Regions from separate parts of the Homo sapiens genome. Here regions 1, 3, 4 and 5 are each linked to region 2. Evidence: promoter capture Hi-C in human tissues and cell types (Jung and others, 2019). All regions are on one chromosome and are shown on one strand. Each heading gives the region's core, a stretch centred on a gene start or on the middle of the fragment in contact. The rest is flanking DNA. Distances are from core to core; before and after follow the strand shown.

Region 1 (5,292 bases), core at 2,007-4,506, 310 kb after region 2:
TACAGGCATGAGCCACCACATCCAACCTCAAATGTGCCTTTTTTTTCCAAGTCTCTCCTCTAAGACCATGCTGAAATTGAAGAAATTAGATGAAATTTGTTCACTATCAGTGAAATTAGAAAACCAGCAATGTATTTAAATTAATATATAATTTAATAAATATTGTTTTAAAATCAGTGTAGATATAAGGAAATACGTAAGTAAGTGCAATTTTATCAAAACATTTCATGTAGACGTCTCACTTGTGAAGTGGAAGCCTGCCTTTGGGTTGAGTCACCTCATTTGGGGTGTTGGGGGGAAGAGCCCCAGGGGGGAGCGCTTGCTGGCACTCTGTCTCCACACTCACACTGTGCCTTGTACTCGAATGCTGAAGAGGTGTTGACTGCTGTGTTGAAGGCAAGAGGCAGTTCCGTTGAAGCCCAGTGCTGGCGGAGAGGCCCTGCACTGGTGCGCTCACACAGCCCTGTGTTTTTGTGTTTTAGGTCGGTAGGCTCCACGACAAAAGTCAACCCTTCTGTAAATCACCTGCTGTGGTTATGATGCTCTGAGTTCAATACGTCTGAACCTTTGCTGTCTATGGATCTGCTCTAAACCTTATAGCCTGCTTATGGGGGAAGGTGAGTTACTGTCTTTTGTTTCCATGTTTGTTTGTTTACCAAGAGTGTATATAACAAAGTCAGACTTACCCTTGACAAATGAAATCTGTTTGAAGTGACACAGTGCTGTATTTCACCCTGCTTCAGTCCACAATGTGCCCTGAAGACTATTCTGTATATGACTTTGGGAAATTGGGGATCCCTGCTTTTGATAGCAGTGAGCTGGTTGTGGTTGAACACCTTTGGGTCCAGTGCCAGGCCAGGTGGTTCTCGCACAGCCTTCCAGCTCTCCCCTGGAGCCAGCCCCGAGAAGCCAAGGAGGCACAGGTTTCAGGAATGAAGGACAAGAAGGCTGTGCTGGGGGCTGAAGATCGTCCTGAGGTGTTTGGAAAGAGTAGGTAATGAGAGCATCAGGAGTGGGGGTGCTGTTTTGGTGGTCTGGTGATACCCTGCAGACATTAGTGCCGTGGCTTGAGCTGCTACCATGAACTTCTGTTGATACAATTGCAAGGAACGTTGGATGAATGAGCAGTTGTGTTTGGAGCTTTTAACATATCCCTTCAAGAAGTAGGTCACCAAAAAATAAACGGGAGTATTAATATCTTAAGCAATATAATAAATAAGTTTGAGCTGTTAGGTATATTTTGAACTCTACATGTTACTTTCTAAGCATACAGAGAGCATGTACAGTACTAGGATGTGTACAGGTGAAGTCTGTCTGTAACATAGGGATGTATGTGTACAGGTGAAATCTGTCTATAACACAGCATGTGGAGAGCATAAGGCAATTATACTGGAAATTAATAGTAAAGGAATAGCTTACATAAATAATATGCTATAAAAAACTCTTGTTAGAAATAAAATCATAAAAGAAATAAAAGAACTTTAGGGCTGAGTGATTATGAGGCAGTATATGTCCAAATTAGCATGACACAGCTAAAGCAGTGCTTAGAAGGACATTTGTAGCTATAAACACGTGTTAAGAAACATGAAAAATTAACTCAAGAGGCTGAAAAAAGAGCAAGAGAGAAAGCCCAAGGATCCATAAGGCAGAAATCAGTGAAATAGAGAGCACAGAAAAACAGAAAATTCACAGCCCTGAAAGCTGTTTTGTGTTTTAGAGTCAATAGTTAGATCTTTGGTTAAAGAAAGTGGAAGGGCCGGGCGTGGTGGCTCACGCCTGTAATCCCAGCACTTTGGGAGGCCGAGGTGGGTAGATCAAGAGGTCAGGAGTTTGAGACCAGCCTGGCCAACATGGTGAAACCCTGTCTCTACTAAAATACAAAAATTAGCCAGGTGTGGTGGTGTGTGCCTTTAATCCCAGCTACTCGGGAGGCTGAGGCAGGAGAATTGCTTGAACCCGGGAGGAGAAGGTTGTAGTGAGCCAAGATTGTGCCCTTGCACTCCAGCCTGGGCCATGGAGTGAGATTGTCTTAAAAAAAAGAAAGAAAGTGAAGGGATGATACTGGTGACAGTCGATGGAACAGAATATAGAAAGGAGTGAATGAGTGAATAAATAAATAAAAATAAATATAGATGGATGGATAGATAGATAGATAGATAGATAGGTAAAGAAATAACCATAGATACAGCCAAGAAGAAAAGTTGAGTACTGTGGGAAACCATATGCTAACACATTTGAAAACATAGGTGAAATTGATAACTTCCTGGGAAAATAGGAAGTGCCAAAATAGACTTGAGAAGAAATAGAGAACTTGGATAAGCCAATAATACTAAAGAAATTTAAGTGACAATCAAAGACTTCCATTCAAAAAAAGTTCTCAGACACATTTTTATGGGTGAATTATACCTAACTTTAAGGAACACTTGATTTCTAACTTACACAGATTGTTTCAGAAAATAGATAATAAAGCTCCCCAGCCCTGAGGCTAGGAAGAAGAGAGGCTGGTCCACAGGTACAAAGTTAAAGTTAGACAGGAGGAGTAAATTCTGGTGTTCTGTTAACAATAGGGTGACTATAGCTAATAATAATATGTCTGTCCAGATAGCTGGAAGACAGGATTTTGAATGTTATCACAAAATCATAAATGTTTACAGTGATGGATATGCTAATTTCCCTGGTTTGATCATTAAATAATGTATACGTGTATTGCAACATCATACTGTATCCTGTAAATATGTACAACTATTATGCGTCAATTATAAATAAAGCTTAAAAAAAGCTGACGGCTTCGAAGGTCGAGGCAAGGAACGTGGCCTGGAAAAGACAAGGGAAAATTTCCCCAAAGCCTTCAGAAGGAACACAGCCCTGCAGCCACCCTGACTTTTGTTCAGAAGGAACACAGCCCTGTAGCCACCCTGACTTTTGTTCAGAAGGAACACAGCCCTGCAGCCACCCTGACTTCTGTTCGGAAGGAACACAGCCCTGTAGCCACCCTGACTTTTGTTCAGAAGGAACACAGCCCTGTAGCCACCCTGACTTTTGTTCAGAAGGAACACAGCCCTGCAGCCACCCTGACTTTTGTTCAGAAGGAACACAGCCCTGCAGCCATGCTGATTTTTGTTCAGAAGGAACACAGCCCTGCGGCCACCCTGACTTCTGTTCGGAAGGAACACAGCCCTGCAGCCATGCTGATTTTTGTTCAGAAGGAACACAGCCCTGCAGCCACACTGATTTTTGTTCAGAAGGAACACAGCCCTGCAGCCACCGTGACTTTTGTTCAGAAGGAACACAGCCCTGTAAACACCGTGACTTGTCTAGTGAGATCTGATTCAGACCTCTGACTTCTGGAAATAGAAGATAATAAATTTGTGATGTAATTTGTAACATCAGCAATAGTAAACTAATACAGTAACTTTTATAGAAAAATGGGTGAAGGATCGGAAAGACAGTTTACAGAAGAAGAAGTACAAAAGGCTGGTGAAGAGATGTGCAAACTCACTTCTTGTCTGAGAGATGCAGAGTGACATGGCGTGTACACTTCCCACAGCTGAGACCAGCAGGAGCGGGCAGTGGACTCGCACCAGGCATTGGGAGCAGATGCGGAAAGTGCACATGCCGCTGGCCAGAGGGGGTGGGCTGGCATGTCTTCTCTGGAGCCTGCTGTGACCTGGCATGCTGTCCTGCATCTCTGTGGTGACAAAATCTCCACGGGTTCATGGAGACAGATGCACACAGCATCTCCTTGTTGTGCTCCGTGGATGTCGGGGTGGAAGGTGACCTCAGTGCCCCTGCCTAGAAGAGTGAAAACCTAACTGTGGCAGAAGCCAGATGCCGTGGGTTGGGTGTGCCAATGGCCCTTAAAGGCAGGGCTGGCGTTACTGGTGGAGGGTGTCCAGGTTCTTGGCGTTTTGAAAAAATAATTGGACAAAACACACAAACAAAGCAAGGAAAGAATGAAGCAGTGAGAGCAGAGATTTACTGAAAATGAGAGCACAGTCCACAGGGTGGGAGCAGCCCGAGCAAGCAGCTCACGGGCCCCAGCGACAGAATTTTCTGGGGTTTCAATACCCTCTGCAGGTTTCCATTGGTTACTTGGTGTACACCCCTGTGAATGGAGAGGGTGTTCCTGTCATGGCTGAAGTGTTTGCATTTGATTTAGTTCTAGGAAGACCTTAGGTTTCTTCCCTGCAGGCCCTCTTCTCCTGCCTCACTGGGTTAAAAAGCTAAGAAACATGAGTGGTGTTAAACCATTCTGCCTGTGTGAGTACAGACGCGTGCATAGGAAATTAAATACACACATACTTTGCAAGAGCATATGTGAGTAAGAGTCAGGCACTCGGTGTTTTAGAATGGGCTCCTGCGTGGTGGCAGTGGCAGGTGGTGGTGATAAGGGCCGGTGAGAATAAAAAGGAGCCGATGGTACGGGGCAGGAGCCGCTCCCAGGAAGCGGTGGTGCCGACGTGTCATAAACTGATATCCGCATCTCAGCCTCTGTGCACGAGGCTAGGAAGAGAAGAGATTTCCAAAAAGGTAAGAGTGGGGCGGGGGGGACAAAAACGCAAAGAAACACAAAGAGCAGCATCCGTGTGAAGTTGGGCCTGGGAGAGAGATGGAAGGGGTGGGATGAGGCCTCTACGTTTCACAGCTCAGTAACCTGGGCCCTGAGAGGCTGTGCGGTTTGTTCCATGCAAGGGCCAGCCTGGACTTGCAGGCTCAAATACGACTCCTCCTGCCCTGCATGTGTGTCAGCTACCACACATGCTTTTTTAAAATTTATTTTTGTTTTTATTTTTAGTTGTTGTAAAATGTACATAACATAGAATTTTCCATCTTAACTATTTTTTAGCATACAGTTCAGGGATATGCTGGGCAGCCATCACCACCATTATCTCCAGAACTTTCTCAACTTTTTGAACTGAATCTCTGTCCCCATTAAACCCTCCCTCCCCCAGCCTCTGGCACCCAGGATCCTACTCTCTGTCTCTAGGAATCTGACTGCTCTAGGGACCGCTACACGTGGAATTATATGGCATTTGTCTGTTTGTATCTGGCTTCTTTCTTTTAGTCTGCTGTCTTCAGGGTTCATCTACACTGTGGCATGTGTGAGAATGTCCTTCCTTTTGAAAGCTGACCGATATCCTGTTGTATGTAAAGACTGCAGCCATCAGTGGACAGGAAGGCTTCACCCGTTTGGCTGTTAGGAGCGGTGCCCTTGTGTGTGCCTATCTCAAGTGTTTTATTCTTTGTGATGCTATTGTAAATAGAAGTGTTTTCTTAATTTCCCTCTTGGAT
Region 2 (6,063 bases), core at 1,502-4,001:
CTCCCCAGGCCACTTAGGCAAAGCCATCAGCATCATCTGGGGTCCCGTCTTGACACCTCTACACACTCATGTCTGTGACAAAGGAACATAGGTGATGGCAGGGAAGCCCTTAAGAGGCAGAGGCTGGTGGGCTTGCAATGGGGGCCGCAGGGAAGAGGGGGAAGGGTTAGGGGAACCTCGAGGTTTCCGGAGCTCCACGGCAGGGCACAGCTGGGAAGAAGATGGGACCAGCACCCTCCATTGGAGGCAGCCAGGACCCTAGAAGTTCTCAAAGGGCCAGGATGAAAACAGCCGGCCAGGCAGGAGGAAGCGCAGGCAGGGGCCACTGCCAGGCCGAGGCAGATCTGACGGTCGCCTGCCTCGGCCTCACCTTCCATGCCTCCTCAGGGCCTGTCAACAGCTGGGAAGATCAGTGCACAAAGGTTGGGCTCCATCACCAGGGACCCTGATGCCCAGAGAGGCCACGGGTAGAGCTGGACATACCTCAGACCGCACCCACTCCTCCCCACTGGGAGACCCATTTGGCCCTGGGACTCCCTGTCAAGTTCACTTTCCCACCTGTCAGCAGGTTTAGACAGGCGCACCGATCCCCAGACAACCAGAGCAACCAGATCGCCGCAGACAACGGGGAGCCATCAGGAGCTGAACTAAGCCCAGGGTCTGCGCCCACAGTCCATGGCCGCAGGAGTCAGATCCCCACCCACAGGACCCCCAGGGGCCCGGGAGCCCTGGGTACTTGGGCCCCCTGTTCTGAAAGGTGCCACCTCCAGAAGCGACCAGAACATTCCTTCCTTGGAGAGACAGCCAGAGTCTCCGCCAGCAAGGGGCTGCTGCTGGTCTTAACAGTCAGCCTCTGCTGCCAGCATACTCAACTTATGTGCCGTGAACGTAGCCCACTGACAGAGGCTTGGCCATCACGGCCCAGACCACCTCCAAGAGGAAAGATAGGGAACTTGGTCACCATCATAGAAACGCAGCCCCAAGCCAGGGGACGCCTAGACTCCAAGTGTCCAGACCCCAGCCCAGTCCCATACAGCTTGAGGCCTCTTCCCGGCATCTGAAGGAAGTCCCCGACCAGACAGGAGGGCCACGGGGAAGCAGAGAGAATCCCTGCCTTCAGGAGAAGGTTGTAACAGCCCCTGCAAATCCCCGGCCCCACTGTCCACAGTGACCAGCCCCACCCAGGCCCTGTCCTTCCAAGCACCAGAGAAGGCCAGAGACCCGCAATCAAAACACAAGCAAACGCCACCTATCATTCCGTGTTTAAACCAGCTCCTACTCTGGAAGGCTAACCAAGAATGTTCGTTATGTTTTTTAGAACGCCTGCTAGTTTAAAAAGAAGAAGAAGAAAGCATTGCACACCCTCCCACCCCTGTTCAGATGACCAAGTTCAGGGTTCCTAACAGCATAATTAGACCCTCCGGCTATCACTGCTGCAGGCCCAAACACCCGAGAAGCACTCTTTCTCATCTGTGTCCAGCAGAGATAACTGTACTATCTGGAATTATAAAAATCCACCAAAGCCCCTTCGGAAAGAAAGCAATTAGCAATTGCAACAAGCAGTGCACAGGTGGCACCCAGGCAAAGGCGGCCAGTGAGATGCAGCCTGGCTCCCAGGCCTGGACAGGGCAGGCAGGTGCACTGGGCCAGAGGCACCTCGGCTCTGCTGATTGAATCTGGGCTGTGCGGGGATCCTCGGGTCTCCGTAGGGGGAGGCCACCTCTTTACAGGGCGGCCAACAGGCGCCTCCAAGGACTTTATCCCACCTTCCCTCTGGATGCATTCTGGATTTCGGGGCCAGCTTAGTTGGCCTGTGTCCTGAGGCCAGGCAGGCCAGACTCCCCAGGACAGGAGTTTCCGATGGACAGGACCCTAGGGGGATGGCTTTCCTGCTGTAGCGGTGTTGGAAGGACCCACTCGGGAAAGGCTCCAGCGGCTGTCCAGGCTCTCTCTGAGACGCCTCGGGATTGCTCCGCTGGATCCGCACCCACAGCTGCTCCAAGGGGAAGTTGCACCTACAAAGCTTCTGGCACAGGAGACAATGGTCTGGAGATGTGCCAGGGGCCCGCCCCACGCGTGGCTGGCAGGGTTCACCCACCGGCTGGCCCGTCCCGAAGCAACACGTGCCTGGGCGCGAACGCCGGATCCACGCTTTCCTCCAGACCCGGGGGTGGGACTTGGCGCCCCAGGATGACGCGGAGGGCAGGCTGGGGGCCGGGACTCCCCACCCCATTCGCAGGCTGCGGCGGAAAGCGAGCGGCGGGAAACCCGCTGCACAGCAACGGTTCTGCCAGGCGCCCGGGCCACCGCGACCCCCGCGGAGACCCCGGCCCACGCCCCGCACCCTCCCCAGGGCCCCCCAGACCCCAGGCTGCAGACCGCAGACCCCGGCCACGCCCCGCACCCTCCCCAGGGCCCCCCAGACCCCAGGCTGCAGACCGCAGACCCCGGCCCACGCCCCGCACCCTCCCCAGGGCCCCGCGGACCCCAGGCTGCAGACCGCAGACCCCGGCCCACGCCCCGCACCCTCCCCAGGGCCCCGCGGACCCCAGCGCCAGCCCCCACACTCACCTCACAGGGCCCTGCAAACCTCGGCCCGCGCCCCGCACTCACCCCAGGGCCCCGAGACACCCCGCAGCCCCCGACACGCGGCCCCGTGGCCCCGTTCCCCACCGGTACCTGCGACTCGGCGGGGCGGCTGCCCTGGGGCTCCCGGACCCGGCCCCGCGCACGCGGACTCCGGGACTACAGCGCCCACAAGGCGGCGCGGCGGGCGCGCGGCTGCGGGGTGGGCGGGTCCGTCCCGCCGAACGCGTCCTGAGGGCGGGGCCTCGCGCGTGGCCGGGCGCTGCGGCAGGAGCGTCCCCACGGGGCACCCTCCCACCCACGGCCGTCTCCCAGCCCCGGCGCCGGCCTCTCCCCACCCGGTCACCGCCGGGGTCACGCGGCCCCTCGTGCTGCGGCCCTACCCCTGGGGCCGCCCCCTGACCCCGACCGCCCCTCGGGCCCCCACCCCCGCCGGCGTCAGCATCCTGGGGTGCCACTCGCGGAGGTGTCGGTCCCTCGGGCGGGCACCCTGCCATCCCTCTCCCCCGCGTTCTTCCCACCCCCGGTCCCCTCCTGACCCCCCCTCCTCGACGAGGCCTTGTGCGTTTTCCTTTTGGCACCCTGGAACACCTGCATTCCTGGCCGCAAGCTGGATCCGGGACGCGGGTCGGGCCCACGCGCCCTCAGGGGTGGCCCTGGGCCGCCTTCGTGGGGCTCCAACAGGGACACGCACAGCCTGCTCTTGGGGACCGCACGGCCCCGAACTCGGCGCCCCCGGGACCCCGCCGCCCGCCCTCCTGCCTGACCGTGACCCGTACGGGCTTGTACCAAGGAGCAAGCCGGATCCAGGACGTGGCCCGGGGCCACCAGTCCCCATCCCAGCAGGGACAGCCCGGGGGAGACCCGCGCAGGCCTCGCAGACGGCAGCGCAGTCACACTCAGGAAGGGGGGCCTGGGCCACTCTCCCAGGAAGGCGTGGGGCTGCGGCAGACAGCACCGCCGAAAGCCCAAGGCCTGTGCAGGACACGGGGAGAAGTGGGGGGCCTCAGGGTCACTTTCCCCTGGAGTTACCCAGGGCCTGGCTATGGGGAGGGAAGCCAAGCCGAGGGCTGTGGGGGCCCCAAGGCTAAGGAGGAGCCAGGAAGTCCACTGCACAGAACAGAAGGGGACGGCCACCGTGGTACCCACAGCTCAAGAGTGCGGGTCCCAGGCGAGGGGTGAGTCTGGGGCAGCAGCCCCTGGAATGTACCCCTTCCGGAGTGTAGACAGCACAATCCGCGACCTGCCTCCTGGTGTTGCGGGGGTGCTCTTGGTCTCCCGCCCACCAGCAGGGCAACCCCACCAGGAAGCCAACACAGGGCCCTTGCCCTAAATGGCCGCCTGCCCAAAGCTCTGGCCTGGGCCTTCTTTCCAGAGTCCTGAGTGTAGCAAGCCACACGAACAAATCTCAAAGGAACTTAAAAAGGATTTGTTGGCTGGAAATGGGGGATCTGGGGTAGCTTGCAGAATTTAAGGGAACACTACAGGATGGAGCGCCTCACCTGGAGGGACCCCCTGCTTTGTGGGAGCCCTGGCTCTCTCCCCTGTACTGGCCTTCTCCACGGGTGGGCAGAACCTGGCCCTGCTGGAAGACAGGAGGGGCAACGCGGAGGAGGAGGGGCCCTTCCTTCCCTCCAGGCAGAGAGGAGCCAGCCATGGGGCCAGCTCGCCAGGGCAGCCTGCTCCCTTTACACGCAGGACAGGCCAGGAAGCCGAGGGGAAGTGGGGATGAACAGCAGCGGGGCTCCTAGACCCCTTCCCACAGAAGGATGGCTCCCACCCCCTTCCCGCCTGGAGACAGCAAGGCAGGGAGCCACAGCCCCAAGGGGACCCCGCAGGACCCACAAAGACCAGTCCCTCACCTGTCTCTCCGGTCAGGTGTAGCCGAGCGAATCCGCCCCCGGCCGCGAGGGGCCTGCCCAAGCTGCCCTCGGGTCCCCCTGCGTGGCAGGAGTCCTGGGAGTTCCCCAGCCACACAAGGCCCAGGTTTCCTGCAGGAGCTGCTTCGGAGTGGGGAGGTAGGGCTTCTGCCACCAACAGCACTTGGCAGTTGTAATCTAGAGGCAGCTGCTCTGAGGGAAGAGCCAGGAGACTCGTGAAGAACTTACAGAAACCTCCATTGAGGACTGCGAGGAGTGGCCACAGACAGTGGGGCGTGGGCTTCCAGAGGGCTCCACCCAAAATAGAGATTTACAAACGCAGGTGACTTGGGAGTGACACTGGCATCTGGGAATGGATCCTGTGCTTGGGCCCTCACGAGCCTCCAGCGGTCCCCGTCCTTGCGTGTTTCATTATCGGTTTGTCAAATAGTTAAGTGCCTGAGCGTCAGGGATGGCAGGGAGAGCTGGTCCCTGGGAGAAGCCCTGGGTTGGAGGGATCAGCAGGGGCCCAGCAGTGTGGATCCCGGCCCTCCAGCCTGTAGGCTCCAGCCATATACAGTGATGTCTGGGGGCTGCAGGCCGCAGAGACCCCTTCCCCTCCTGGAGGGGCTCAGGTGGGCTCTGCAGCCCACCCCACAGCAGTGCCCCATCCCCAGCTCCTGGGCCCCCACTCCCCGGCAGCCTTAGCACCCATAGTCCAGGCCCAAGAAATCTCTGCCAGAGAATGAGGACCCTGCCCACCCACTGCCTTCTGAGACCAACCGGCCAGTCCTCTGCCTTGGCTGGAGAGACGCAGGGCTGTCCCTGTGGTTAAGGTCCCCGTCAGCATAGGGAGGCAGTGGCATTCGAGCAGCCCTTTCCCTCAGCTGGTGCTGTTGTGGTGGCTGTGGCTCTGGAAGCAAGGCTTGGACCAAATGCTAATACATGGACACACATGCACAGAGACACACAGATCCATGCAGACGTGCAGAGACGTGCACATGCAGATGGACACAGACATGCGCAGACACGCACACACACTGATGTGGTTTGGATTCTCTGTCCCCTCCAAATCTCATGTTGGAATGTGATTCCCAGTGTTGGAAGTGGGGCCTGGCGGGAGGTGTTGGATCATGAGGACGGATCCCTCATGAATGGCTTAGCACCATCACCTTGGTGATGAGTGAGTTCTTGTTCAGTTAGCTCACTCAAGAGCAGGTTGTTTAAAAGAGTCCGGGACCCCCCCCTTGCCCTCCCCTCCTCCCACTCTTGCTATGTGACGCTGGCTCCCCGTCACCTTCCACCATGTGTGGAAGCTTCCTGAGGCCTCACCAGGAGCAGATGCTGGCACCATGCTTCCTGTACAGCCTGCAGAACCGTGAGCCAATTACACCTATTTTCTTTATGATACCCAGTCTCTGTGTTCCTTTATAGCAACACAAAAACAGCCCCCCTCATACGTACACACACGTACAGACACCACCAAGACATATGCACAGATACAGAGACGTAAACATACAGACATACACATGACACAGAGATACAGAGACATACACATGCATGCTCCCGTGCAGACGGCACCCCATATGCAGGAAGACGGGCGCGGACCGGCCTGCCA
Region 3 (5,365 bases), core at 2,781-5,280, 260 kb after region 2:
CTTTTTAATGCTTGTACACTTTTTTCAAGGTTTGAAATTATATCACAATAACAAGTTGTCCGATGAGTACAGTAGTCCCCCTTTGTCCACAGTTTCACTTTCTGTGATTTCAGTCACCCATGGTACAGTATAGTGAGATATCTTGAGAGAGAGAGACCATATTTACATAACTTTTATTATGGCATATTGATAAAATTGTTCTGTTTTATTATTGTTAATCTTCCTCTGTACCTAATTTATACATTAAAATTTATCATAGGACAGTTTATAACAGGGTTTGGTATAGTCCATGGTTCCAGGTAGCCACTGAGAGTCTTGGAACGTACCCCTCTTGGATAAGGGGGGAGGGCTGCAGAATGAATTCTTCAGCCTTCTCCTCAGAACAGATCTTCTGCAAGACTTTGGCAGATGATGCTGTGACCCCGGTGTCACAGGCCAGGTGGACGGCCAGGCCAAGGTATCCGTGCCTGGTCCTGAGGGGCCAGGCACGCGTCCACGGCAGGGCCACCCAGAGCCTGGGGTGCTGGGAACTGGGCTTTGTTTTAGTTTCTCAAATGCTTTTCTCAAACTGGAATTTTAATTACAACAAAATTAATGCCGCAGAATATGATTAAAAAATAATGAGCTGAGAACAAGCAGCCTCTTGAGGTGATGTCCCTGTGGCTGAGCCCAGGAGGCCTTGATGCGGGCAGAGGCTGTGCTAGCTTCACCAGGTTGGCACCGGGCTCTCCAATGCCTGGTTGCTGGTGGCTTGGACAGCTGTCGGGGAGGGTCCTCTCAGCTCCCGCGCCCTCTGCCCACAGCTTGTTCTCTCACTGTGAGAACCACCCAGTGATGGTTCTTGTGCTGTTCTCTCTTCATGAATCATGGCCTGGCTTCCGTGCAGCTGCCTTTTTGGAGGAGGCTGCAGGAGCACAGAGTAATGGCTGCAGGTGGGGCCTTCCAGAGGCACAGGCTGAGGGGCCAGGCAGCAGTTCCTCTCTTGCAGCTTTTTCTTGGGAGCACCGGGCCAAGCCAGAGGCTCCTGGCAGATCCACCCACAGAGACAGCAGGTCCAGGTCAGGGCTACCCCTCGCACAGCCCAGCAGGATGTGGGAGCAAGCCTGTGCGCCCTGAGCCAGGCCTTCTGTGAAGTGCAGATGATGTCGCCTTTGTAGACAAAGGAAGAGACCTTGGAACCTGAGGGTAAATGGAGAGGCTCTTTACCAGCACTGAACTCTGAGCCCAACTGGCTCCAAACAGGCGTGTTGTGGGCGTGTCCTGAGGTGTGTGCCTGACCTGACCCTGAGGCCCCCTCCCTGCCATGCCTCTAACCCACCCAACACCACCAGCCTTGCTGGTGCCTCCTGCCCTGCCCTCTGCTCTCAGCTGCCTGCCCTGGTCACCTGCCACCCCTTCGTGCTGGGCCCTTGGGCCAAGCACCGCATGCAGCCTGGTGCACACCTGTGCCCTCCTGAGCCTGGGTGAGGTGGCCCTCCCACCTGGGCCATGTGCCTCACTATGCCTAGGCCACAGCCCGGGAGGGAGGATGTCTTTCCCTGACCTCGTTTGTGTGGCCCTGGTGCCCAATGACTGACTTTCCTTCTGCTCCCAGCCCTGCATCCTCCTGGGAGATGGGGTGTTTGAGCATGGGGTTCCCGCCTCCTCCTCCAAGTGACTTTCCTTCTGCTCCCAGCCCTGCATCCTCCCAGGAGATGGGGTGCCTGAGCATGGGGTTCCCGCCTCCTCCAGGACTTGTTGCCCGTTCTGCGTGGCCACCCGTTCTTGCCAGCATGCCCACTCGCTCTGACCTTGGAACGTGCTCTGCTATGGCCACTCTCCAACTCTGGCAATGGCACCAGCCATCATTCTATCACCTGTGACTTCCCCACTCACCCGTCCTGTCGTGCCACCTGCAGCACCCACAGCCTGGCTCTCACTGCCACTGCGTCCTGTGGGAGAAGGTCACATCCACTTCCCTGTGTGGATGGGGGTGTCATGAGGACCCTGGAGTGTTCTGATGGCCAGCCTTGTGGGGACCCTGGCTGCTAGCCTTGCCTTAGCTGCTCCTCTGTCCCCACTCACAGCCCCGGTGGCCAGTCTGTCTGAGTCCTGCCCTTGTCTACCCACCTCCTACAAGACAGCCAGTGTCTGGGCTGGCCCCTCCCTGCTGGCTGCAGGGCCCCTGGGTGCACAAGGAGCTGCAGAGGAGCAGATGGCGGCAGCTGAGGCAGCCACAGGGACAGGGCCACAGACACACTCAGGTTCCATGGCCTTGGTACATTTGCTCTTCTTGACATGGGTTTCAGAGAGGGGCCACCATGCCATGCCCACAGCGTCTGGCCAGGTGCTGGTCACTGACCCATCTTCACAGCATCTGGCCAGGTGCTGGTCACTGACCCGCCTTCACAGCCGCACTTGTTGTGACATACTTGATTCAGTAGATCCTCCTGGATGCACTCTGCTTATATGCCTTTTGCTCATTTTCTGCCTTTAGCTGCAGTATTCTTTGGAAGGAATTCTGGGCAGTATGTGCTGTTCAGATCCTGTCACTGCATTTGCTAATTTGTTGCATTAGCAAGTATTTGGCTTGTGCATGCAAGACAAGGTTAAATAATCCAGTGTGGAAATAGAAAAACAGTATGTGGAGATCCAAACCCATATAATTACTCCCCATGATCTACTCAGTTTAATCAGATTCTGCAGGTTAATCATGTTTGTGATCTCATGGTGCACATCCCTCCCGAACATCTCAGCGTCATCAGTGGAGCCGCTCGGTTGTCCTGTGACACTGACTGTCCCTCTGTGGCTCTCGGGGTCTCCCCTCCTCTTCCTTGAGGGCATCGTCATGATTCAGCAGTGACTTCTGGGCTGGGTGGTTAGCGGGGCTCCCTCCTTTACCCTCAGACCCCTTGGATGCCATCCTGGGCAGAGGCCTTGGCCCAGTGCAAGCTCTTTCTGCCCACATTCTCCTGGTAGCGGCTCTGCAGCTGGGCGCTGTTTCTGCCCTGTCATGCAAGTGGGCTGGGTGCAGAGGCTCACAGCTGGGTGCTGGGGCTGGGGGTGAGCTAGCTGTCCGGCCCCTGCGTCAGCACCACCCCTTGCTGTGTTCCTGAAGCGTCCTGTCTTCCATGGTCAGGATGCTCTTTCAAGACAGCCCTGATGGCATCACCTCCCTTCACTCGCCTCTTCTTAGCTTGTTCATTAAAAACAATTGTACTTACTGAGTGCCTACGTTGTCCTGTGCCCGGGCTGCCCAAGGTGGTGTGAGTGTCAGGGCACGTGGCCCAGAGGGCTCTGCAGAGACGGCTCTGAGAGCAAAAGTGAGCCATGCTGGAGAAGGGACAGGAGCCCCTGGGAGACGTAAGAGATGGGGACAGGCTGACGGAGGAGGAGGACCGGGCTGGGGGAGGATGGTGGGGCTCTAAGCAGGGCAGGAGGTCAGATTGTGTGTTTGGGATGTTCCTCTCCTTCATGGGGAGGAGAGGCCCTGAGGGAGGCAGGAGCAGGAGGGGCATCGTGTCCCCAAGGACCCCAGGCAGGGCCTCCAGGGCTGGTGCTGGGAGGAGGCAGGGATGGGAAGGGTCCCCGAGGGCCCTGAGCAGGGCTAACCCTAGGGAAACCACACACAGGCCACGGAGGGAAAAGCTTTTAACCCTTGTCGTGTATAAACGACTCACTAGGTCTTGGTGCATTTTTCATTGATACTCATATATTTACTGTTGAATCTCTTTGAGTTCTTTTTAATGATTTTTCTTGTTTTCAATAAAAAATAACATTTCCCGTCTGCATTGTACAGTCATAATTTGAAAACAAAAATTGTTTTGTTGTGCAAACACTTGTTCTGATTCTTTATCTATTCGTTGGAAGTCAGTCACAAAGCAACTTGAGAAAACAGCCTGTCTCTGCCTCCAGCCTGGTGTGCCTGCAGCTGTGTGGGTGCGTCCCCTCCTCACTTTCTCAGCAGAGGCAGAGGCTACAGTCTGAGTGGCAGAGCCCACCTTTCTGCTGGGGGTAGTGGCCATGCAAGGGTATTGGTGTGTTTTTTGCACATGCAGCTGGCCATGCTTTAAAATAAGCAGATTGACCTTTGTTTACCTTTCACCCCCAGAATGGTTTGGTCAATGACAGCAGCCATTTTTATTGTTTTTATTGTTTCTTTTCTGTGGTGGTGAAGGTGGCATCCCCTCCTAGCAGCTGCACACTGGGGTGGTCCTGAGGAAAGGAGGGCGAGAGCAGAGCTTGGGGGCGGGCCATGAGGGGAAGTCCAGGCCTCTCCACCCAAGGATGACCCTTTCTCCAAGAATCCTGCAGTCTGTTGTTAGGTCGGGAAAAAGCCGTGGTGGTTTTATACTGCCAGTGCCGGGAGCTTTCCCATGAAGTTTAAATGCAAACAGGACACTGAGGGCAGGAAGGTGTGCTGAGCTGCCCTGCACAGTGCTTGGCTCTGATGCCCACCCCAGGGTCCCTGGGCACTGCCAAGCTGGGCATGAACCTGGGGTAACCCAGAGGAACCTGGAGCAGTATGGGCTCCAAGAGGCCCCTGAGCTTCTCCAGGACCCAGATGGTGACAGCCTGGAACATGGCTTCCCCGTGGCCTCGCTGCCATAGTCAGGCCTCGGGAGGTGACCCTGTGCCAGGGCACCGGATGGCCCAGGTCCTGCTGGGGTGGGCTGCTGAGTCCCTTCCCATGAATGTTGTTACTGTGCTGTATCTCACTTGTGCCCTCGCTGAGATGAAGGACGCCTAGACCTTAGTGCAGGTGCCTTGGGGGCGTCCTGGCACTGAACATCCTTGAGACATCTGTGGTGCTTCTCTTCCTCATCTGTGGTGTTGTGGGCCTCCAGGGGAGGTGGCTGTCTGCCTGGAACAGGAGGCCCAGCCCACAGGTGCCCACTGCCTGCTGCCGCGCCTCCCTCTCTGCTGCCCGCGTGGCTGTAGTGTTTTTTACCCCATTGCTGTTTCGCTTGGCACCTACACGTTGGTTCCCTCCTGTGCACCGGGCTTTGTGCTGCAGGCTCTGGCGTGTTCACAGTACTCCTTTGGAGGGATTCTGTTTTTAGAATTAGTGGTACAATATCTTGTCATCTTGGTAACTTATTATTAATAAAAATGGTATAAAATGTTTTGCCTCCTAGTGCCCACACCATCCATGTAGATTATATTGATTTACTCCAGCTATTTGAAAGGCTTTGAGGTGGTGTACAATATCAAACCATGTGAAACAGCACGATTAACTGGCAAAACCAAAAGCCATGGAAATGAGCCGGGGAGCTTACTGAAGATCCTAGTCTTGGGGGAGATGTTTGGTGAAAATGTGTGCATTTGCTTATGAAAGACTTGTATTTATTCTGCACCCCCCTGACCCTGAGTGTCCCTTGGTCCA
Region 4 (5,455 bases), core at 456-2,955, 270 kb before region 2:
CGGCCGCCCCTACTGGGAAGCAAAGAGCCCCTCTGCCCGGCCAGCCGCCCCGTCTGGGAGGGAGGTGGGGGGGTCAGCCCCCCGCCTGGCCAGCCGCCCCGTCCGGGAGGTGAGGGGCGCCTCTGCCCGGCCGCCCCTACTGGGAAGTGAAGAGCCCCTCTGCCCGGCCAGCCGCCCCGTCTGGGAGGGAGGTGGGGGGGTCAGCCCCCCGCCCGGCCAGCCGCCCCGTCCGGGAGGTGAGGGGCGCCTCTGCCCGGCCGCCCCTACTGGGAAGTGAAGAGCCCCTCTGCCCGGCCACCACCCCGTCTGGGAGGGGTACCCAACAGCTCATTGAGAACAGGCCAGGATGACAATGGCGGCTTTGTGGAATAGAAAGGCGGGAAAGGTGGGGAAAAGATTGAGAAATCGGATGGTTGCCGTGTCTGTGTAGAAAGAAGTAGACATGGGAGACTTTTCATTTTGTTCTGCACTAAGAAAAATTCTTCTGCCTTGGGATCCTGTTGATCTGTGACCTTACCCCCAACCCTGTGCTCTCTGAAACATGTGCTGTGTCCACTCAGGGTTAAATGGATTAAGGGCGGTACAAGATGTGCTTTGTTAAACAGACGCTTGAAGGCAGCATGCTCGTTAAGAGTCATCACCAATCCCTAATCTCAAGTAATCAGGGACACAAACACTGCGGAAGGCCGCAGGGTCCTCTGCCTAGGAAAACCAGAGACCTTTGTTCACTTGTTTATCTGCTGACCTTCCCTCCACTATTGTTCCATGACCCTGCCAAAATCCCCGTCTGTGAGAAACACCCAAGAATTATCAATAAAAAAAATAAATTAAAAGAAAGGAAAGAAACGAAAGCATTGAAGCTCCATACCCTTTCTGACGGCATCTGTGGCCACAAACACCTTGTCCAGCCGGTGGGTCTTCATGAGGCTGCGGATCTTCCTCACGGCCCCTTCCAGACTGGGTACATCCTGTCTGTGACCCCAGATGAAATCTTTTCTTCTCAGGTGGACTCCCAGGTAGGGGCCCCCTAGCGCGGAGCCCAGCTTGACCTAGCAAAGAACCACAAGGAAATGCAGAAGCTGACAGGCGGGCTCGGGGCTCATCCTGGGCACCGGGTGGGACTCGAGACGCAGAGGGATGACCCTTTCCATGTGGCCTCCTCCACGGGGTGGCTCCAGGGCTGTCTAAGGGATTCAGGTGGAATCTCGGGGGCGACCAGATGTCTTTCTAAGAAGACAGTGAAGCAGTATTAATTACCAGAAATCATTTTATCTGAGGTAAAGAAAAATATTTAAAAAGAGAACAGCATGTGGAGGCTCACGCTGTGAACTTTTCCTCCGAGAACCACCGCAGGGACGTGCCACAAAGAGTTCACGGATCCTGTGGACAAAGCAGCTCACAGCTGCAAACTCCCCGGGAGCCAGAATGCTCTGCTGCCCTCTTGACAGTGCCACCTCCTGGCTGGAGGCCACCAACGCAAATGGCTACAGCAAATTCTAACCAACAACCCTGCTCCAAGGAAGGAGAAAGCAACAGCTAATCCCACCACCTGCAACCTCCTGGCTGTCCACAGGTCCCGAGTCTGTCCACGTGACAACTTCACTGCAGCATAACCAGCATTCGAGAAAGCCAGTGCACTCAACAAAACTACAACCAAGGACCCCCCCAGAGTCCACTTCACTCCCCCGCCACCTCCAGCAGAGCAGGTGCTGGAACCCATGGCTGGGAGACCCGAAGACGGATCACAGCACAGGACTCTCCGCAGACATTCCCCAGCAGCATCCCAGGGCCTGGTAGCCCCACTGGGTGGCTAGACCCAGAAGAGCAATAACAATCACTGCAGCCCAGCTCTCAGGGAGCCCCATCCCTAGGGGAAGGCGAAGAGCGCCACAGAGCACCCCGTGGGATAAAAGAATCTGAACAGTAGCCCGTGAGTTCCAGATCTTTCCACTGAAGTAGTCTGCCCAAATGAGAAGCAGGCAGAAAAGCAATTGTGATAATATGACAAAACAAGGTTCTATAGTACCCCCAAAAGATCATAGTAGCTCCCCAGCAATGGATCCAAACCAGGAAGAAATCTCTCAATTGCCAGATAAAGAATTCCGAAGGTTCATTATTAAGCTACTCAAGGACATACCAGACAAAGGTGAAAACCAACTTAAAGAAATTAAAAAAAAAACAACAACAACAATATGGATGAAAAATGCTCCAGATAACTAGGTATCTTAAAGGAAAAACAATTGCAACTTCTGGAAATGAAAGACACACTTAAAGAAACGAAATACACTGGAAAGTTTCAATAATAGACTAGAACAGGAGAAGAAAGAGCTTCAGAGCTCGAAGACAAGGTTTTCAAATTAGCCCAATCCAACAAACAAGAAAAAAGAATAGTAAAAAAAATGAACAAAGCCTCCAAGAAATTTGGAATTATGTTAAACAACCAAACCTAAGGATAATTGGTGTTCCTGAGGAAGAAGAGTAATCTAAAAGTTTGGAAAACTTATTTGAGGGAATAATTGAGGAAAACTTACCTGGTCTTGCTAGAGATCTAGACATCCAAATACAGGAAGCTCAAAGAATACCTGGGCAATTCATCACAAAAAGATCATCTCCTAGGCACACAGTCATCAGGTTATCTAAAGTCAAGATGAAGGAAAGAATCTTAAGAGCTGTGAGCCAAAAGCACCAGGTAACCTATAAAGGAAAACCTATCAGATTCACAGCAGATTTCTCAGCAGAAACCTACAAGCTACAAGGGACTGGGGTCCTATCTTCAGCCTCCACAAACAAAGTAATTATCAGCCAAGAATTTTATATCCAGCAAAACTAAGCTTCATAAATGAAGGAGAGATCATCTTTTTCAGACAAACAAATGCTGAGAGAATTCACCACTCCCAAAGCCAGCTCTACAAGAAATGTTAAAGAAGTTCTAAATCTTGAAACAAAACCTCAAAATACGCCAAAATAGAACCTTCTTAAAGCATAAATCTCACAGGGCATATAAAACAACGCAATGAAAAAGAAAGAAAACAGAGTATTCAGGCAGCAACTAGTATGATGAATAGAATACAGTACCTCACACCTCAATACCAAAGTTGAATGTAAATGGCTTAGAGACTCCACTTAAGAGAAACAGAATGGCAGAATGGAAAAAAATCCACCTGAAAGCTGTGAGGCAAAAGTCTTCAAGAGACTGACCTAACACATAAGGACTCACACAAACTTAAGGTAAAGGGGTGGAAAAAGATACTCCATGCAAATGGACACCAAAAGCGAGTACAGTAGTATTCTTATATCAGACAAAACAGACTTTAAAGCAACAACAGTTAAAAAAGATGGAGGAACATTATATAATGATAAAAGGATCAGTCCAACGGGAGAATGCCACAATCCTAATTATACATGCACCTAACACTGGAGCTACCAAATTTATAAAACAATTACTACTAGACCTAAAAAATGAGATAGACAGCAATACAACATAAGTGGGGACTTCAATACTCCACTGACAGCACTGGACAGGTCATCAAGACAGAAAGCCAACAAAGAAACAATAGACTCAAACTATACCCTGGAACAAGTGGACTAAAATATTTACAGAACATTCTACGCAACAGCTGCAGAATATACATTCTGTTCGTAAGCATATGGAACGTTATCCAAGATAAACCATATGATTGGCCACAAAACAAGCCTCAATAAATTTAAGAAAATCAAAATTATGTCAAGTACCCTCTCAGACCACAGTGGAGTAAAACTGGAAATTAAATCCAAAAGGAACCCTCAAAACTATACAAACACATGGAAATTAAATAATCTGCTCCTGATCTTTGGGTCAACAATGAAATTAAGATGGAAATTTAAAAATTCTTTGAACTGAACAATAACACTGACATAACTTATCAAAACCCCTGGGACACAGCAAAAGTGGTGCCAAGAGGAAAATTCACAGCATTAAATGCTTACATCAAAAAATCTGAAAGAGCACAGACAATCTAAGGTCATACCTCAAGGAATGAGAGAAACAAGGACAAACCCAAACCCAGCAGAAGAAAACCACCAAGATGAGAGCAGAACTAAATGAAATTGAAATGAACAGACAAAAAAATACAAAAGTTAAATGAAACAATAAGCTGGTTCTCTGAAAAGATAAACAACATTGATAGACCATTAGTGAGATTAATGAAGAAGAGAGAAGATCCAAATAAGGTCAATTAGAAACAAAACGGGAGATATTACAGTCGATACCATAGAAACACAAAATAATCATCCAAGGCTACTATGAACACTTTTATGCGCACAAACTGGAAAATCAAGAGGATAAATTCCTGGAAATACACAACCCTTCTAGATATAGACCAGGAAGAAATATAAACTCTGAACAGACCAATAACAAGTAGTGAGATTGAGACAGTAATTTAAAAATTGCCAACAAAAAAAGTCCAGGACCCAATGAATTCACAGCTGAAATCAGACACTGAAAGAAGAAGTGGTATCAATTCTACTGAAACTATTCCAAAAGACAGAGAAAGAGGGAATCCTCCATAAATCAACAGACCAATATCCCTGATGAACATAGATGCAAAAATCCTTAACAAAATACTAGCTAACCGAATCCAACAACATATCAAAAAGATAACACAACATGATCAAATGGGTATCATACCAGGGATGCAGGGATGGTTTAACATATCCAAGTCAACAAATGTGACACACCACCTAAACAGCACTAAAAACAAAAATCATATGATCATTTCAATAGATGCAGAAGAGGCATTTGACAAAATCCGGCATTGCTTTAAGATTAAAACCCTCAGCAAAGGTGGCATAGAAGGGACATACCTCAAGATAATAAAAGTCATCTATGACAAATCCAAAGCCAACATTATACTGACGGGGGAAAAGTTGAAAGCATTCACCCTGAGAACTGGAGCAAGACAAGGATGCCCACTCTCACCACTTCTATTCAACATAGTACTAGAAGTCCTAGTCAGGGCAATCAGACAAGAGAAAGAAATAAACGGCATCCAAATCAGTAAAGAGGAAGTCAAACTGTCACTGTTCACTGATGATATAATTGTATACCTAGGAAACCCTAAAGACTCATCCAAAAAGCTCCCAGATCTGATAAATGAATTCAGTAAAGTTTCAGGACACAAAATCAATGTACACAACTCAGTAGCACTGCTACACACCAACAACAACCAAGCTGAGAATCAAACCAAGAACTCAACTCCTTTTACAACAGCTGCAAACAAACAAACAAACAAAAACAACCAAAAAAACCCACAAAACTTGATCTCTACAAGGAAAATTACAAAACACTGCTGAAAGAATTCATAGACAACAAAAACTAATGGAAATACATCCCATGCTCATGGATGGGTAGAATCAATATTGTGAAAATGACCATACTACAAAAGCAATCTATCAGTGCAATTCCCATCAAAATGCC
Region 5 (5,600 bases), core at 2,266-4,765, 340 kb after region 2:
TCAGCAAACACGAGGACAGCTCAGTACAAATGATCCATGCCGAGTGATAGAAAAAGGACTGGGAGAAATGAATGGAGCTTCCGAGACCTGCAGACAATGCAGACACCACAGTACACGTGGTTTTTATGTGCACATGGGATGTTCCCCAAGGCAGGTCATATTCCATGTAAAAAACTAAAGCCTAACAAATTTAAAATAATTTAAATCATATAAAATGTATTTTCTGGCCACAGTAGAATTAAACTATAAATCAATAACCAGAGATAACTGGAAATTTTCCAAATACTTGAAAATCAAAACACACACCTCTAAATAATGCCCTAGTCAAAGAGGAAGTATAAAAAAATTAGAAAATACTTTGAAGTAAGAGAAAATGAAAAAAAACCTATAGGATACTAGTAAATCAGTGCCTCTAGAGAAATTTATAGCATGACAGCATCCATTAGAAAAGAAGAAAGGTCTTCAAACAATAATGTAAGCTTCCACTTGAAGAAACTTTAAAAAAAGAAAACAAAACAAGCAGAAGGGAGTAAATAATCAAGACCCAAACCCAATGAAATTAAAAACAGAACTAAGCCTCTTCACATTGGAGTAGTTCAAATAAAGGAAGGACAGAAACAATCATGGGTTTCAAGAGCTTGCAAAACGGTGGCAGTTCTCTGCTGTCTGCGTTTGTTGTGTGGCGTGAGAGTCCATCCTGGTTTCGTGGCATTTTTCTCTGCATCCTTTTTATTGACAAGACGTTCCTGTCGTGAGTGGTTTTCCTCTGGCCTCTTCTGGGAGCTGGTGGATTTGCAAGTCACGGCCAGCCTTCGAAAGCAGGACTGTTGCCTGGTTCCCCAGTTGCCCTCCTGGAAAGCTCTACCCTGCTGGCCCTGGGCCTCGGAGGGGAGGGGAGCGCCTGGGGCGCCGCGGTCCTGACCCCACACAACTTCTTCTGCCATGGCCCAAACCCAGCCCTGTGCCGCCTCTGTGGGCCACAGGGACCCCCACAGCAGACCCCCAGCAAACCCTCAGTGACTGTCTGAATGAAAAACGCAGGAGTGGGTGGTGTGGGAGAAAATAGGATTACGGTGCTTCTGAGTATTGAGTTTAGAAATCGCTGAATTTCAGAACGTTCCACGAGGCCGTGGAAATTGAGCTGGGCTCAGTGCTCATGGTGTGAATCTGTCTAATCCTTAAATACATACTGCGCCCCCTTGTGGGCCAAGAGTGGTGCTGGGAACTGGGGATTCAGTGGTGAACGGAGGAGACACGTGTGCCCTCTGCCCTCTCGGTGCCAGGGTGGCCCCAGGTGACTGCAGCAGGGCCAGGAGAGACGGGGTTGTAGGTACAGCCTGGTAGGCAATACCCTCCAGAAGAAGGTCCTGATAAGTGGGTGGGAGAACTCACCCTGTCCCTGCCACGGAAGCCAGGGAGCCAGCGGGAGGGCAGGGAGCAGTGACAAACAAGACCAAGGGGGTAGGTGCTGGGCTCTGGACGGGAGGCTCAGGGCCGGGGTTAAACAGCACAGCAGTGGGAAGGTACCCAGGGGCTTCAGCACGGGGTGAGTCCAAGCTTAGAAGCTCACTGGCAGCGTCAGGCAGCTCATGCCCAGCCAAGTGCTCCTGAGTGGACATGCCTGGGCCAGCTGCGGGCCACAGCTGTGGCTGCTTTCCTGGCTGGCCTTCATCAAGCTGAGCGAGTTCCCCTCTATTCCTGTTTTTTTCTGAGCATTTTAATTTTTATCGTGAGTTGGTATGGAGTTTTGTGACAGGCTTTTCTGCATGCATTGATATGATTGTGTGCTTTCTTTAGTCTGTTAATAAGGTAGATTACACAGACAGATTTTCCAACTCTGAGCCAGCCTTGCATCACAGGAAGAATGGTTATAGCATGTAATTCTTGTGGTATATTGCTGAATTCTATGTGTTCATGTTTTTTGTGTGTGAAATTATTAAATCAAGCTAATTAACATATCCATCACCTCACATACCTTTGTTTGTGGTGAGGTTCGAGTGATCCTCCCACCTGTCTCCCAGGAGTTGAGACCACAGGTGCACTCCACCACACCCAACTAATTTTTTCAACATTTTGTAGAGATGGGGTCTATTTTGCCCAGGCTGGTCTTGAACTCCTAGACTCCAGTGACCTGCCTACCTCAGGCAACAGCCTAGGCAACATAGAGAGACCCCATCTCTATAAAGAATTTAAAATCACTCTCAGCAATTTTCAAGTATACATTGTTCTTACCCATAGTCACTGTGCCACACAGCAGCTCCCCAGCCTGTTTGACTCCCGTCTAACTGAACTTGTGCCAGTGACCAACAGCTCCCATTTCCCCCAACCCCCCGCAGTCCCCGACAGCCACCTCCCACCCTCTGCTTCTGTGAGATGCACTTTTTTAGATTCCACATGTGAGATCATGCAGTATTTGTCTTTCTGTGCCCAGTTCATTTTACTTGTTATAATGTCCTCCAGGTTCATCCGCAGTGACACAGATGACATGGCTTCTTTCTGTGTGTATGTCTGTGTGTGACATTTTCTTTATCCGTTCGTCTCTCTATGAACACTTAGGCTGATTCCACCATATCTAGGCTGTTGTGAGTTGTGCCACAATCAACACGGGCCTGCATGTGTCTCCTCACTATAGTGACTTTGGGTATATGCCCTGAAGTGAGACTGCTGGATCCTGTGGTGGTTCTATTTCTAGTTTTTTGAGGAACTTCCGTACCGTTCTCCATAATGACTGTACTAAGTTTCCCATCAGCACTGTACAAGGGTTCCCTTTTGTCCACCTCCTCACCAACACTTAGCTTTTGTCTTTTTGATAATAGCCATTCTAACAGGTATGAGCCGATATCCCATTGTGGTTTGAATTTGCATTTTTCTGGTGATTAGTGATGTTGTGCACTTTTTCATATACCTGTTAGCCATTTGTATGTCTCCTTCTGAGAAGCTTCCATTCCGTTTCTTTGCCATTTTTTTAAAATCTGGTATTTGTTTTCTTGCTATTGAGTTGTTTGAGTTCCTTACACATTTTGAGTATTAACTCCTTATCAGATGTTGTATGGTTTGCAGTTTTTTTTCCAGTTCCCTAGGTTGTCTCTTCACTCTGTTGTTTGCTGTGCAGAAGCTTTTCAGTTTGATATAATCCCATTTCTCTACTTTCTGCTTTTGTTGCCTGTACTTTGAGGGCCATATTTAAAAAAAAATCATTAACTAAACCAGTGTCGTGGAATTTTTCCCTGTGTTTTTTCTTAGTGGTTTTGCAGTTGCAGATCTTACATTTAAGTCTTTAACCCATTTTGAGTTGATTTTTATAGATGGTGTGAGATGAGGGTCTAATTTCATTCTTCTGCACAGGGACATCCAGTTTCCCCAACACCGTTTATTGAAGAAACTGTCCTTCCCCGTGTGTGTTCCTGGTGTCTTTATTGTAGATGGATTGGCTGCAGCTGCGGGGTTTCCTGCCAGGCTCTCCGCTCTCCTCCACCGGCCTGCATGTCGTTCTTACACCAGCGCCAAGTTCTGGTCTTTAGTATTTCATTCCTCTGCTTACTTGGATTTATTTTGTTCTTCTTTTATTAGATTCTTAAAATGAGTGCTTAGATTATTGATTGGAAGCTTTTCTCTCTTCAAATGTGTGTGTTTCGTGCCACAGGTTTCCCTCTCAGCACTGCTGTAGTTGTGTCCTGCGATTTTTGATATGCTGTGTTTTTATTTTCATTCAGGTCAATGTGTTTTTTGATGTTCCTTGAGATTCCCTCTTTGACCCTTGGATTGTTCATATATGTGTTTCATTTCCAAGTGCTTGGAACTTTTCTTGTTATCTTTCCATGATTGATTCTGGTTTGAGTCAGCTGTGGTCAGAGAACATACACTACGGTTTCAATTCTGTTAAATTTGCTGAGGTTTCTTTTATGGCCAAGGGTATGGTCTATCCTGGTATAGATTCTGTACATGCAGGAAGAGAGTGTGGATTCTGCTGATGCTGGACAGAGTGTTCCGGAAGTGTTCGTTAGGCCCCGTTGGTTGATGGTGTTGAGTCCTTCCAAATCCTTTGCTAATTCTCTGCCCAGTGGTTCTTTCAGTTGTTGACAGTAATAAAGTCTTCAGCTGTCGTTGTGGATTTTTATATTTTTCTTTTCACTACTATTAGTTTCTGCTTCACATATTTTACAGCTCTGTTATTTGATTCATACACATTTAGGATTGCTATTGCTTATTTAGACTCTTTTATCATTATGTAATGTCCTTCTCTGTCTCTGATCATTTTCATTGCTCTGACGTCTATTTTTTCCGATATTAATATAGCCATTCCTGCTTTCTTTTGATTAATGGTTGCACGATACGCCTTTTCCCATTAGTTTATCTTCAGTTTGCTTATATTGTTCTATTTGAAGTGAGTTTTCTGTAGACAGCATATGATGGGGTCATATTTTTAAATCCACTCTGCCCATCTGTGCTTCAATTGGTGTATTTGGACCATTTATACTTAAAGTTATTACGGTATTGAGATGTTAGGGCTTAAATCTGCCATTTCACCTTTTATTTATCTTTTGTATTTATTTATTTTGAGATAGGGCCCTACTCTGTCATCCAGGCTGGAGTGCAGTAGTGTGATCATGGCTCACTGCAGCCTCTTCTGGGCTGAAGTGATCCCCCCACCCCAGCCTCTCAAGCAGCTGGGACCACAGGCATGCACCACCATGCCCAGCCAATTTATTTTTATATTTTGTAGAGACTAGGTATTCCTGTGTTGCCCAGGCTGGCCTTGAACTCCTGGGCTCAAGTGATCCTCCCACCTTGACCGCCCAAAGTGCTGGGATTACAGGCGTGAGCCATCGCACCCAGCCTCATTTTTAATTTTGTTGGCTTTGTTTTTTGTTTCTCTGGTTTTAGTTTTTTCTTTCTTCCTGTGAGTCAGTGTACATTTTTTTGGAATTTTATTTTATCAGTAGCATTTTAGAGTATATATCTGTATGGCTTTCTTTTTTAGTGCTTGCTGTAGGTAGTATATCATATATATACACACATACTGAATACTAAGTATATAGCATATATATACACACACAAATATATATATGTAGCACATGTATATACACATGTATACATACACATATATAACATACACATATGCAACATGCATGCACATCTAAATATACATATATGTCACGTGTGTGTGCATGTATAATGTTTGAGACAGGATCTTGCTCTGTTGCCCAGGCTGGAGTGCAGTGACACGATCATGGCTCACTGCAGCCTCGACTAACCAGGCTCCAGCCGTCCTCCCACCTCAGCCTCCCCAGTAGCTGGGACCACAGACAGGCACCACCACACCCAGCTAATTTTTTAAATTTTTTTGTAGAGACAGGGTTTTGCCATGTTGCCCAGGCATATATGTGTTACCAATTCTACTGCTGTCAACATTTCACCAGTTGGAGGGAAGAAACTGTAACTTCCTTTATAATTTTTTTACTGTCCCTCATTTATGATGTAGTTGCTTTAAATATTTCCTAAGCATTCTGTACATATCAGACAATGCTGTAATTTTTGCATCAGTCATCAATCATAGTTTAGAGGACTCGAGAGTGAAGCCTTTCTATGCACTCACATGT

The links. Contacts are between HindIII fragments. The study calls those that stand out against the background at their distance.
Region 1: a fragment that was not itself captured here is called in contact with the fragment with the promoter of SLC19A1 in region 2 in 5 of the 25 tissues and cell types used here (H1 embryonic stem cells, IMR-90 fibroblasts, aorta and 2 more).
Region 3: a fragment that was not itself captured here is called in contact with the fragment with the promoter of SLC19A1 in region 2 in 1 of the 25 tissues and cell types used here (dorsolateral prefrontal cortex).
Region 4: a contact is called between a fragment that was not itself captured here and the fragment with the promoter of SLC19A1 in region 2, in 1 of the 25 tissues and cell types used here (mesendoderm cells).
Region 5: a fragment that was not itself captured here is called in contact with the fragment with the promoter of SLC19A1 in region 2 in 6 of the 25 tissues and cell types used here (H1 embryonic stem cells, IMR-90 fibroblasts, aorta and 3 more).

What each region holds. Positions count from the first base shown.
Region 1 is chr21:45,849,479-45,854,770 of GRCh38, forward strand. It overlaps PCBP3 (poly(rC) binding protein 3), which reads left to right. Exons shown (of 18, transcript NM_001384156.1): 5 at 483-617. The coding sequence starts at 608. Among named protein-coding and RNA genes, the nearest start is that of PCBP3-AS1, 16 kb to the left of the region's middle. RefSeq lists an enhancer at 5,152-5,292. The HindIII fragment of the contact is 8,241 bases long and covers 1-5,292 here.
Region 2 is chr21:45,539,689-45,545,751 of GRCh38, forward strand. It overlaps SLC19A1 (solute carrier family 19 member 1), which reads right to left and starts at 2,752. Exons shown (of 6, transcript NM_194255.4): 1 at 2,680-2,752. RefSeq lists silencers at 2,186-2,245, 2,596-2,905, 2,946-3,025 and an enhancer at 2,880-3,392. The HindIII fragment of the contact is 13,138 bases long and covers 1-6,063 here.
Region 3 is chr21:45,799,230-45,804,594 of GRCh38, forward strand. The region is part of intron 4 of PCBP3 (poly(rC) binding protein 3); the gene reads left to right. Among named protein-coding and RNA genes, the nearest start is that of PCBP3-AS1, 35 kb to the right of the region's middle. The HindIII fragment of the contact is 9,548 bases long and covers 1-5,365 here.
Region 4 is chr21:45,268,971-45,274,425 of GRCh38, forward strand. POFUT2 (protein O-fucosyltransferase 2) reads right to left here. Exons shown (of 9, transcript NM_133635.6): 7 at 869-1,049. Among named protein-coding and RNA genes, the nearest start is that of POFUT2, 16 kb to the right of the region's middle. The HindIII fragment of the contact is 5,405 bases long and covers 1-4,408 here.
Region 5 is chr21:45,879,398-45,884,997 of GRCh38, forward strand. All of the region lies in intron 5 of PCBP3 (poly(rC) binding protein 3), which reads left to right. Among named protein-coding and RNA genes, the nearest start is that of PCBP3-AS1, 46 kb to the left of the region's middle. RefSeq lists an enhancer at 1,178-1,982. The HindIII fragment of the contact is 4,995 bases long and covers 1,019-5,600 here.